Regions from separate parts of the Homo sapiens genome. Here all the other regions are linked to region 1. The links are contacts of gene promoters, found by promoter capture Hi-C in blood cells and fetal thymus (Javierre and others, 2016). All regions are on one chromosome and are shown on one strand. The core of a region is centred on a gene start or on the middle of the fragment in contact, and the rest is flanking DNA. Distances in the headings are between cores, read along the strand shown.

Region 1 (4,263 bases), core at 1,218-3,717:
TTGCTCAATCCACAATGCACCGAAGGCTACCTGGCAATGAGTATTTACATAAAGAAGGAATGAATAGAGGGACGGATAAATAAATAAATGACTGTGCCCTCACCATACAGACCAAGAAGCACAGGTGGGAGAAGTGAAGTCTCAGTTGGAGCACATACAGCGAGTGGACAGTGGCTCCAGCAGCATTAGCCCACCCCATGTGTGTCCTCCAAAGCCTTCCAGGTGCGTAGAAGCTGCTTCTCTCTCTGCCATGATCACCCCTGGCACTGGGAACACACTGGTGGTTGGGGGCAAGACTACATCACCTCCTCTGTGCCAGCCTGTTATGCCAGCCACACACAGGATGAGGTGAGAATCCGCTCATTTTATAGATTAGGAAATTCGGTCTCCAAGAGGCTAAGTGGCCTGCTCCCACAATGACAGCAAGGGTGCATCCCTCATTCCTAAGCCCCAACGTGGCAGGGGTGTCATGTAATCAACAAACGTTTGTCACTGGCTGTGCCAAGAATGTGCTAGGACCCTTCCGCTCTCTGCTCTACACAGCCGGGTAAACTGAAGCCAAGACAAGGCAAGCGACTTGCTGTCACCCAGGACTCCCCGCGTGTTTGCACAAATCTTAGCCGAGTTGATTTGTAAAACACCCAAACACTGCGGGCGCATGGCTGCAGGGGGAAAGGAAGCCAAGTAACACAGTAGGACCCAGCATCCGCGTCAGGGAGAGACCGGGGGGCTGGCGGAGTGGGGGCGGCGGTGTTTGTCACCGACTCTCCAATCCCAGTCCTAGAAGCAGGGTGGACTATCCCAGCTCGATCATCCCAGATTCCCCAGGCTCCTGCTAGGAGAAGTCCCTCAGCGCCGGCAGCGCTGACCCTGGTCCAGGGGTCCGCCCTTCCCGGTAATGTCAGGCCTTTCTCCTTGGCATAGATCGGCCTTGGGGTCTGCGAGGACTGAACCTCACTAGGCCTCTCTCTCCCACCCGCAAACATTCTCGAGTGTTATGCGGCTCAATGCCCCAAGGTGAGCAGGCGCCGCGTCTCCGCGGTGGCCGAGAGGGCAATGGCTGAGGAGTTCGTTTGGGACGAAGCAGTGGAGCAGGGGAACTGGGGAGCCTGGGCCGGGCCTCTCTGTGGGTCCCAGCGCAGCGCAGCCAGGCAGGCGTCGGGACCTAGGCGGCTTTGGATTCGGCGGGCGACCTCGCTTTGAAGCTGATCACCCGCTCAAGGTGATCACGACGTGCCGACCCAGTCTAGATTTTGAGTTCTGCAGAAAATGCAATTTTAAAGGAAAAGGACCCGCCTGCCCTTCTTCGGCAGTTCGTTTGGCCCAGGCCTTCGATCAGCTGAAAGTTTCCGATCTAGGGGGATGTCCAGGCTGCCGGCGGAGCAGAGCCGATAACCCCCCTCTCCTGCGCGTTCCCCTGAGACTTGGCCTCCGCAACCTGTCCCAGCCGCGGAGCAAACTGCTCTGCGGCCCGCGCGAGTGCGCCCCAGGGCTTCGCCGCTGCCGGGCGTCCCCTCCATCCACCTCGGGACCCGCGCCATCACCGCGGCGGGGTAAGAAGCTCGGAGGCGCCATCCCGGGGCTCTGCGCCGTCCGCTCTCCCGGCTCCTGGCCGCTCACGCACACAGCCGGTAGCTGGTTTTCGTTAGCCGCTGCCCTCGCCCAGAAGGCGGGTGGAAGGTCGCCAGTTGGACGCACAGCCAAACTCTTAGCGCACTCCCGCGCGAGATCCCCCATCACCCGGGGCTGCCGTCCTCATTTCGAGCTCTTTCTAGAGCTTGGCTCCCGCTGAAGCGCAACTTCCGCGCCCAAACCTTGCTTTTACGACGGGCGGTCCGCGTCCAAAGGTCTCTTACAGGCCTGCCCTTTCAGCTCCTCGCCCTCCCTTCCTCCCCTACCGGCCCCCTCCCCTGCTCTGGCCGCCCGCTGCAATCCTTTGGGGTCTGTGGCTGAGTGGGGAACCGCCGACCCGCGATCCGGAACGCGACTTTGAGGCCGCCGGGAGCATCCTGTGGCCTCTCTCTGCGCGGCCACCCGGCCGCGGCGCGAAGCGGTCTGGAGGGCGAGCCCTTCCGCGGCCCCAACTCTGCCGCCCCGTTCCCGGCATTGGGAACCAGGGCAGGGAGGGGGCGGGTGTTTCTCTGCGGGGGAGTGGGGAGGAAGCTGGGCGGGTGCGCGCGGTGCCCCGAGCCTGGAACCACGGAGGGCGCGTTGGTCTTGGGCGGATGGAGGGGGTGTCGCACTGCCGCGGGGAGGCGTGTCGGGAGGCTGGGGCCAGTGGCAGTCGCTTGGCGAGGGTGGGGGCGTAGCGCTGCGGTGGGAGGAGGCGGCTCCGGCCCTGGTCTCCACTCTAGGCCGGGGTGGGGGGCGCATAGCGGCCGCCGGAGCTTTCAGCAGGGGGCGCTGCTCCGGGCGTTGGGCGGGGGTGGGGTGGGCCAGGAGGGGGGGCCGCGGGCTGGCCGCGCACACTTCCCCCATTATTAAACACTATGTTCAAAAGGCGCCGGGGGACTTCCCGGAGCCACGGAGCCCGCGCCGCCCGCCCGCCCGGCCCACGGAGCCCATGGACCTGAGCGCCGCCGCCGCGCTGTGCCTTTGGCTGCTGAGCGCCTGCCGCCCCCGCGACGGGCTGGAAGCGGCCGCCGTGCTGCGAGCGGCGGGGGCTGGGCCGGTCCGGAGCCCAGGGGGCGGCGGCGGCGGCGGCGGCGGCGGGCGGACTCTTGCCCAGGCTGCGGGCGCCGCGGCTGTCCCGGCCGCCGCGGTTCCCCGGGCCCGCGCCGCGCGCCGCGCCGCGGGCTCCGGCTTCAGGAACGGCTCGGTGGTGCCGCACCACTTCATGATGTCGCTTTACCGGAGCCTGGCCGGGAGGGCTCCGGCCGGGGCAGCCGCTGTCTCCGCCTCGGGCCATGGTCGCGCGGACACGATCACCGGCTTCACAGACCAGGCGACCCAAGGTACTTACGCCTCTTCTGTGCCCGCCCATCCCGTCAGGTCCTGGGCTGAGACCAGCCCCGGAGCCGTGCCGCAGCTCCGTTACATTTGGAGCCGCGGCCCCATGCGGCCCACCCTCAGGTGATAGAAAGAAACTTCGCCGAGGCCAACACTCTCCAGCCCGCTGCACCTGGACTGTGGCGAGAGTCGCGGCAGCTCCCGGGGCCCAGTCCCAGAGGGCTGACTGGTCCCTCTCCCAGGTCTCCCTGGCCTTGCAGGCCGGCTGGTCCCCTCGAGGAGGCAGGCGGAGGCCAAGATTCGCTTCTTGGGGAATGGTCTGGAGTGGCCTCGGAGCCCTCAGAGAAGAAAGGAGGGCAAGAGCTGTGTTCCCGGGAGTCACGGCGAGAGGGACTGCACGGTGGTGAGGGTGATGGCTCCTTCCTTGCAGCAATTTCTGCAGCTCCCAGTCTCCTGCGGGCCACACAAATTGGGGGAAGCCCAGGGAAAACTAGGGCAGAGGCAGGTATCAGACTAAAGTAAATGGCCCTGGAGAGGCTGGTGGCATAACCAGGTATGAGGAGTGCCCTGCTCAGCAGGTTGGTCTGGGTGGTGGTGGTTTGTGTGTGTGTGACATGTGCAGCTATGGGTGCCTGTGTCTGGTGCTGGGCCCCTGGGAGAGCCAGAGGTCAAGGATCCTGGTGGTGTGGGGAGGAGAGGCCTGCTGGGGACCCTGCAGGAATGCAGGCCTCTCTTAGACTAAGCACCCCACCTTGTTCTGCCCTGGGCCTTCCAAAGGTAAGATGTAGGTGAGGCTGTGGTGTGGCTGCTGTATGTCATCTGGATTTTATTAATCTCCATTGAAATCATTAAAGCAGACAGATAGAGAAAATTTACCTAATTTCAGGCGGAAATGCAAGTAATTTCGGCCTTAATTCTATCCAGCCAGAGACCCAGCATGGAGGGCAGGAGGGAAAGAAAGGCGAATAGGGCTGGGAAGTGAGCGGGTGGGGCTGAGGCAGCCCTGCTTGGGAGCCACTGACAGTCAGCATACCTCAGGTCCTAGCCTGGGAAGGCAGGCAGAGGCCTTGCAAGTGACCAGGTCATCCATCCCTGCCAGCACATGCCCAGTGCCTAGCACAGACTGCCTTATTTTTGGTACCTGGAAATCTTGGTACCCAATCCCCAAATGGCCCTGTGGTTCGGTTAGAACTATCAAGCCTTCTCTGACGGCCTGACATGGCCCCTGGGCTGGATGCTGGGATACTTATAGGACGCCCTAGTTCTGGTGCACAGGGACAGGGACTGAAGGGTCCCAGGCTGCAGGAGAAGGGG
Region 2 (4,186 bases), core at 1,410-3,909, 1.3 Mb before region 1:
ATGCAACCGAGTTGTTTCACCACTGCTTTGCCAGATTATCTTGAAAACTGATCCTGACTCAGGTCTCTAGAACTTAGTAGATGTAGAGCAGGTTGTAGAGCAGATGTAGAGTAGATGGAAGCAAGGTTGGTGTTGGTCCCCCAGGCTGTGCCTCCCAGAGAAATCATGACCACCTCTGCCTGGAGCTGGTCAGCAAGGCCACAACAGGACAAGGCCAGAGTGCACCTGAGTGCTAGTGACGATGGCTCTCCACAAGGGCTCACCTGTTTCAGAAGCCTGGCTTCAGAGAGGCGTCTCCTAGGTCGCTGACAATGCACAGCCTCAGAAAGCCAGGATAACGAAATTCAAGAATTGCTAGGAGCTGAAAAGTCCTCCATCCCGCTCTGAGCTCCCAAGGGGGTGACCCCCAAACCCTAGCCTTGACCTCCACAGGAGGCCAACCAAAGTCTGGGTTCCTTCTGGGCGGGGCAGGCAGGAAGAAGCCCAGGAAGCTAAGAATCCCTCCGGCCGTTCGGTGCTGCGGTATCCCATCCCCCGCCTGTTTAAGAGAAATTGATCACGTTAAGCGGGCCCTGCGTCGCTGCGCAGTGCCCGGACTACCGCTTGGATGGATTGACAAGGGAAGGACGCAGGACACCTAAGAGCAACAAGGGTACTTTTTAAGCGAGGTTACATGTGTTTAGGACTCGCGAGGACGTCACGTTTCGAATTTGGTAAAAGTCCTCGGTAGCTAGGACCCAACAGTTCTGCCCTCCTGGAAACCCAATGAAGGTGACAAAACTCCCATCTCATTACTGGGAGTCCAGCGCACTCCGCCACCGCGGCTGCAGCTTCTGCTAGCTCGGAGCCTGCGGACTCCAGCCGGCGCGAACTCCGCCGCGACTCTTTCTGGCTCTCTCGCTCACTGCCTTCGGGGCGGAACCGCGGGCGCCGGAGTGGTCCCAGACTCGGCTGGGACCGGGCAGCCTAGAAGAAGGGTCCCCTCAGTAGAGACCAGGCCTCCAGCTCTCCGTCCGGCGCTCCGCTCCACAACCCGCCAGTCGATGTGAGGTCCGTCAAGGGAGCGATCCCTCCGTCTGCCCGGGCTTCCGGGCTGTGGACCGCACTGAACCCAGTCCCGCAGCAAGCCCTGCTGCCGCCTTTTCCTGGGCACGCCTGCGGTGGTGACGGCCCGCTGCTCATGTCTCCACGCCAAACCCCAGCCCCTCTCCCGATTCCTGCTCCTTGGTAAAGCGCCCCAGCCTGTCTTCGGAGTGAAAATTGAGCAGCTTCCAGAAAATTAACTAGAATGTGGTCTATATTGCTTTGAGTTGTTTTGGATTCAAAAAAAAATGAACCCCACCTCTCCGCACCCCATAGCCTAAAAAAAAAAAAAAAAGTCCTCATTTTTTCAAATGAAGTTTGCTCAGCACTTGCGAATTTTTGCTTCCAACGCAACTACTTCCTGTAACTACTTTGCAGACAATTGGGGGTCTGCTCGTTAGAAACCCCCTTACGCATGTACAGGGCTTTCAAATAACCTGGAGATTTAGGCGTCCCTCTGTATTCATTTAGATGATGGATAGTAATGGCTCAATAGTTCCTCTGGAACCATTACGGTCAATCAGGTCAAAATCCAGCTTGGGGGTGGGAAGGATTTTTAAGCACGGGAGGTAGGTAACAGGACTCCTGCGCACATTTGTTCAGATAACACCTCTGATAACGTAATGCAATCCAGGGTCCTTAAGAGAACAGATGCCAGGTGAACGCAAGAGCGGGTGTTTTTTGTTGTGACAGCGACAGACAAGTTACAGTATCAAAACTGAAAGGGAAAGTGAACTGTTTTTCCAGGCAGTTCCCGTTTGGTAAGTTCTTTACGGGCACACAAATGTAACTCTTTCACCTTAATAAATGTAACAATACATACACACACACACACACACACACATATACCTTTGGTTTGTAAAAATATGTGTGACATGAAGCATAAATACTAGCATGGAATTGCATGGGCATACGATCATCGGGAAAATGGAATGATGATGTCTTCTGTTGTGAAGATCAAATGTAAAATGTATGTAAAAGACGGCATGGGTTTTTACTTTTTACACAAATTTGAGTTGTCAGACTATTTTAGACACATCCAGATCTATGTACTAAGGTTAATGAACTTTTCCTTTTTCCAAGGTGTAAATAAGTGCATTAGAAACAAGGCAATGTCTAATCAGCCGGGGATGTTGGAGAACAGTAGTTTGAACGGAATTGTGAATAGTTAGGGTGGAATCCTGCAGATAGAGCCACCTACTGCACCCGCGGCGCTGGGTCCTTCCGGGCTGCACCGGCGGCGGGTGGCGCTGGAGGAAGGAGAGTTCGCGGTAATTAAACATTTCCAGACACCGGAGGGTTATTATCTGCAGAGCGATTTCCGGCGATGGGACTCGGAGAGAGTCCGGCTGCGAGGTTTCGAGATTCTGGGACGCAATCCTAAAGAAAACGTGCCCCCTGCTGGCGAGCAAGCCACATCTCGGGACCCCTTCTTGGAAAACTCGCAAACCCACAGTATCCTTATTTCACTTTGCCCAAGAGTATTTTAGTCCTTCAGTTTTTCTTTTCTCAGTTAGAAGTTTGCTGCTACTCATTTAAAAGTACGCACACGCTTACCCTTCCAAAGAGCAAACGGAGGAGGAATTTCTTCTCGCCACGGGGTTTCTGTTTCCCTGCCCCAAACCAGACGTCCTTGCTCTCAGATGGATGAGGGCTTTTGTTTGTTTGTTTGTTTGTTTTTAAATAATCCGAAATTCCTAGCAACTATCTGCCGCCGTTCGCTTCTGGTCCTGGGAAGACGATGAGCAAAGATCTACTGGGACCCCATCCTGCATTTGCAAGCTCGGTCCGCGTGCCCCTCCCGGCACACCCGGAGGTGAGAAGTGCCCTCCGGTGCCTCCGTCCGCAGCCCCTCGTAGGTCTGCACGTCCTGCTTCGGATCCCAAATCCTGGCTTTCTGAAGAAGCGCGGGAAGAAGAGAGAGAGTCTGTTTCCGTGAATCGATTTCCCTGAAACACGTGAGGTTTCCTATCCTCTCCTTCCTCCCAGACCATTAGATTCCAGTTCCTCTGCTGCTTCCTTTTTTTTTTTTTCGGATTTCCGTACAGAATATTCTAGCAGGACCCTCCCTTGTCATCATAGCTCTAGGTATTCAGATAGAGACCTGAAGAGAGAAATCCTAAGAATATACCTATTAACAAGCTCTTTGGTTAATTCTCTGTCTACAGAGGACTATGCCACATTGCATAGAATGAGTTCCTAAAGTGTCAGGTCCACTCATTGGAGCAAAATACCCAGAGAAAACAAGCAAGAAAAGGGCAGAGAGAAAGACAGATTCCCTACCTGCTCCAAGCTCTTAGAGGAAGGCTGTGTCCTCCTGCTGCCCATCACTCACTTTGCTCCTCTGAGGCAGGGCCTCCCACTTCCCTATCCTGAGCTTGCAGTGAGGGGTGGAAAGGGAGTGGACCCAACTTGGACATTCCAAAGAATTACTACATTCACCAACCCTCCCTAAGTGATGCAAAGCCGCGCTGTGCCTCACCTAATGGATGAGTAGAATTACCTACTGAATAGAAGGAGGCCAGGTGCTTCTGCCTCTTTAGTGTTTATACCAGGGGTGCTTCCTGGCTTCAGACTGTCACCCTGAAGAGGTGCTGAGCCCCCAAGGCGGTGGCCCAACTAGAAGGGATGCTATTGCTCCTGGGAACTTGAAAGGCATCCTACTGGATGTGGCTTTAATACCTGGTGTTCCTCTACCAAGTGCAACTTAAACTTAAGCATCAGTTTTGGGGAGATGAGAGGGATGGAAGGATGACAGATTGGAATTGAGAATGTTCCACAAAGGGAATACAGTGAACTGGGAGGGGACCACCCCATCAGCAAAAATAAATAAATACAAATAAATCTTTCCTTCTCTGATTTCTAGGAAGTTAGACTCAGGAGGAGGAGTCATAGAGTCATATTTGTGCATCTGAGTTACATCACAATGTAGTGGGGATTCTGCACACAGCGGAAAACCACAATCCCTTATTTTAGCCACCCTCAAAAGACAGATATTCTTCCTCCATGGTCTAGGCTGGAAGTGGGGGGACACTTGAAATGCCAGTTCCCACCATAACTCTCTTCCTAGGTGACTCCAGGCAAATGAATTTGCTGGTCATAT
Region 3 (4,112 bases), core at 890-3,389, 1.3 Mb before region 1:
TTGAAGAACTAAAGACAAAGAAAGTAATCTGAAAGCAGCACTGGAAGTCAGGCGTGGTGGCTCATGCCTCTAATCCCAGCACTTTGGGAGGCTGAGGCAGGTGTCAACTGTAGTCAGGAGTTCGAGACAAGCCTGGCCAACATGGTGAAAACACGTTTCTACTAAAAATCCAAAAATTAGCTGGGTATGGTGGCTGGTGCCTGTAATCTCAGCTACTTGGGAGGCTGAGGCAGGAGAATCGCTTGAACCTGGGAGGCAGAGGTTGCAGTGAGCCGAGGTCACACCATTGCACTCCAGCCTGGGTGACAAAAGCCAAACTCCATCTCAAAAAAAGAGGGGAAGGGAGGGAGGGGAGGGGAGAGGAGAGGAGGGTAGCATTGGAAAAATGACGCCTTACGTATAGGAGAAAAACAATTCATATGACAGTGGATTTCTGATTAGCAACCATGGAAGCCAGAAGGAAGTAATAACATTTTTCAAATGCTGAAAGAAAGTAAGTGTCAACCTAGAATTCTTGGTGAAATTAACCTTCAAGAATGAAGGAGCAAAAAGACATACTCAGAAGAAGGAAAACTAAAAGGATTTGTCACCAGCATACCTACCCTAAAAGAATGGCTAAAGAAGATAAGTTCTCAAAACAGGAAATAATAAAAGAAGGAAACTTGGAACATCAAGAAGAAAAAAAGAACAATGGAAAAAGCAAAAACATGGTGAAATTCAATAAACTTTACCTTTCCTCTTGATTTCTCTAAATTACTTTGATGGTCAAAGCAAAAACTTAGCATTGTGTAATGTGGATCTCAATGTATGTAGAAGAAATATTTAAGGCCAATGTGCCATAAACAGGGAGGATAAAGGAGCTTAAAGGGAGGTCAGGTTTTTACACTTTTCTCAAACTGTTAAAATGTTTTAACTAGTGAAATAGTTCCATATCTTGATTGTAGTGGTGGTTACAGGAATCTAAACATGTGATAAAATAGCATAACACTACACACACTCATTGTATCAATATCAATTTTCTGGTATGATATTGTACTATCATTATGCAAGATGTAACTAACCACTGAGAGAAATGGAGTGAAGTGTGTATGGAACCACTCTGTAATTTTCTGTAAATCTATAATTATTTCAAAATAAAAAACATTTTTAAAACAGGTGACTGTTCTAGATTAAAAGACACTAAAGACTAATGCAATGTAAGAAGTTTTATTGGTTTCTGATTTTTAAAAATACAAGAGGTTGGAAAATTTGGAGAAACAAATATAGATGGAACATTTGATCATGAAATGATATAAAATTGTTAACTTTCTTTAGTGTCATAATAATGTGGTTATGTAGGATAATGTCTATTTCTAAGAGATATGTGCTGAAATATTTAGGGATGAAATATAATGAAGTGTGGAACTGACTTTCAAATGATTCAGAGAGAAAGACAGAGAGGGAAACAAATAGAATAAAACATTGTCAATTGTTGACTCTATGAGGATAATCTGAGGGTGTGTTTTGTACTATTCTTTCTATTATTCTGTATGTTTGCAAATTTTCATTTTTAAAAATGTTGGAAGGATAGATTGATGGATGACTGTGAGAAAGCAAGTATAGTAAAAGACCAATTGTGAAATCTAGGTGGTAATTGGCTGAAACATTTTCAAATATGAAAAAAGGCATAAACCTACAGACTAAGAATCTGAGAAAACCCCAAGGAGGATAAACTCAAAGAAATCCATTCTATGGATGCTCACTATAAAATTATTTCAATTTTTCTATATGCTTGGAAATTTTCAAATTAAAACATTTGGGGGTAAAGCTGAAGGAATGTATTACAACTGAATGCTTTCCCCAGCACTTCCAATCCTCCTTGGCCCAGTTAAATACACACTTATGACAATTAAAATAAAACTTATCCTTTGCTAGGGGCAAAAGCTTGCCCAGCTTTCTGGCTGGAAAAGCCCTAGCAATGTTTCATACTTTTCCCACAGAGGTAAAGCCCCAGCCCCTGCCATTGTCCCAACTGCCACGCTGAATTCCCAAGAGCACTACTGACTGTCATGGAGAGACAAATGTAACCATGGTCAGGGTGAACTCAAGGATAAGCTGGTCTTCCATGCAGCCACCGAAAATCCAAAGGAAGCAATGCCTCAGGTGAGCAGCCAAGGCCCAGGAGTGGTGAGAAGGGTGGTGAGGGTAAAGAGCCTAATGAATTTTGTGGGACATATAAACTGGGATCTTGGTCAGGTGTGACCGAAGTTGCTGTATTTATTATATTATTAAAAAGGTAAGTGATGTTACTGATTGAGACTTTAAGCTAAGTAAACATATTAAACATTCAAGAGTAAGCACTAAAGAAATTAAGCGAAAGCTTATCATTTTATTCAGAGGAAGTCAGAAAAGGGGCATTAAAACAGTTGGACAACTAGAAACATAAAGTGAGATGGTAGAAGATAACAGCAATATAGACATCACAATAAATGTAAATAGCTTAAACAGTCATACATGTATATGTGTGTACATATATATAATTTTTGTATATATGTATATATAATTTATATATCTTTGATGGAACTACAATAAGAAAATGACAGTTCCACCATCACGGCGGGAGTTTTTAATACACACTAAAGTGTCAGTTAGGAATTAACAGGTAAAGAAATCAAGACATTAAAGATTCTGGATATTAGTCCTTTGTCAGATGAGTAGGTTGCGAAAATTTTCTCCCATTTTGTAGGTTGCCTGTTCACTCTGATGGTAGTTTCTTTTGCTGTGCAGAAGCTCTTTAGTTTAATTAGATTCCATTTGTCAATTTTGGCTTTTGTTGCCATTGCTTTTGGTGTTTTAGACATGAAGTCCTTGCCCATGCCTATGTCCTGAATGGTAATGCCTAGGTTTTCTTCTAGGGTTTTTATGGTTTTAGGTCTAACGTTTAAGTCTTTAATCCATCTTGAATTAATTTTTGTATAAGGTGTAAGGAAGGGATCCAGTTTCAGCTTTCTACATATGGCTAGCCAGTTTTCCCAGCACCATTTATTAAAAAGAATATAGAAGATATGAACATTATAATTAAAAATATGGATCTTATGGATACATAGATCCCTCTGCTAATAATAACTCTTCTAGTATTTCCACCCATCTTAGAGTGTCCATGCTCAACTATTTCAGTGTCCAATGATCTCTCCAACGATAAGGTCATGGAGACTATTCCTTTTGGCTACAGCACAACACATGCTCTGGTCCTTGGCCTACCGTACACCAACAGGGAAATGCTATGTGTACTGTGAGATACCAAAGCAATTCTGAGCTCCGACTGCAAAGACATTCAGTTCTGGACCCAGGTTAATTAAGAAGTGGACCAAATGCCCAAGCAAATTTCAATATTTAAGGCAAAACCCAAATTCTCTGGAAGTTCATTTTCCCCCTCTGGTTGTCAGGAAGCTAAAGAGTCTAGCCATTCCTTCCCCATCTCCACTGGCTTTCTTCCATGCCCCCTATAAAGTTTATCATCTCATGCAACTGTCTACCTACAGGATCCAAGTGGTACCCACTCCTGCAAATGATAGAAAGAAATCCACCCCTTCCCTTGTCATGACAAAAACTCCTTATCTTATCTCACTAGCAAAAAAAGTTGAAACCAAACATTTAAAATGTATTAATTACGCTTTATACATCCCCAGAGACAGCTGTGCTGATGAGAGCCAACTCAGTGTTTGGAAAAGGGAAACAAAAACTTTCAACTCATTCATCCCTCCATCCCATTTTGGGGGGTTAATCCTTTCATATTCTAATCTCTGGAGCTGGAACTAGACTTAGCCAGGAAAAATGACCAAAAAAAATGGCAGCAAATTGCCAGGACTGGGTGACTGGGTGAGAGGACCATTCCTGCAGAAGTCCACATAAAGAACATTGTGTGGCCACTTTTTCTTTAGACTAGGATGCTCTAACACAAGTCAAAGAAAACAAATGGGTCAGGCATGGTGCCTCACGCCTGTAATCCCAGCACTTTGGGAGGCCAAGGTGGGAGGATCACTTGAGACCAGGAGTTCAAGACCAGTCTAAGCAACATAGCAAGAGCTCGTCTCTACACAAAAAAAGTAGAAAAAATTACCAGACGTGGTGGC

What was found. Contacts are between HindIII fragments. The CHiCAGO score rates a contact against its expected background, and 5 or more counts as called.
Region 2: a contact is called between a fragment that was not itself captured here and the fragment with the promoter of GDF7 in region 1, in 1 of 17 cell types (total B cells). The highest score is 5.3, in total B cells.
Region 3: a contact is called between a fragment that was not itself captured here and the fragment with the promoter of GDF7 in region 1, in 1 of 17 cell types (naive B cells). The highest score is 5.3, in naive B cells.

Annotation. Positions count from the first base shown.
Region 1 is chr2:20,664,677-20,668,939 of GRCh38, forward strand. It overlaps GDF7 (growth differentiation factor 7), which reads left to right and starts at 2,468. Exons shown (of 2, transcript NM_182828.4): 1 at 2,468-2,954. The coding sequence starts at 2,564. RefSeq lists enhancers at 1,211-2,041, 3,028-3,147 and silencers at 2,128-2,237, 2,308-2,357, 2,398-2,547. The HindIII fragment of the contact is 16,143 bases long and covers 1-4,263 here.
Region 2 is chr2:19,360,699-19,364,884 of GRCh38, forward strand. No RefSeq gene overlaps it. Among named protein-coding and RNA genes, the nearest start is that of OSR1, 4.2 kb to the left of the region's middle. RefSeq lists an enhancer at 2,606-3,407. The HindIII fragment of the contact is 5,959 bases long and covers 1-4,186 here.
Region 3 is chr2:19,342,526-19,346,637 of GRCh38, forward strand. It overlaps a transcript of OSR1 not described here. Among named protein-coding and RNA genes, the nearest start is that of MIR4757, 3.8 kb to the right of the region's middle. The HindIII fragment of the contact is 436 bases long and covers 1,922-2,357 here.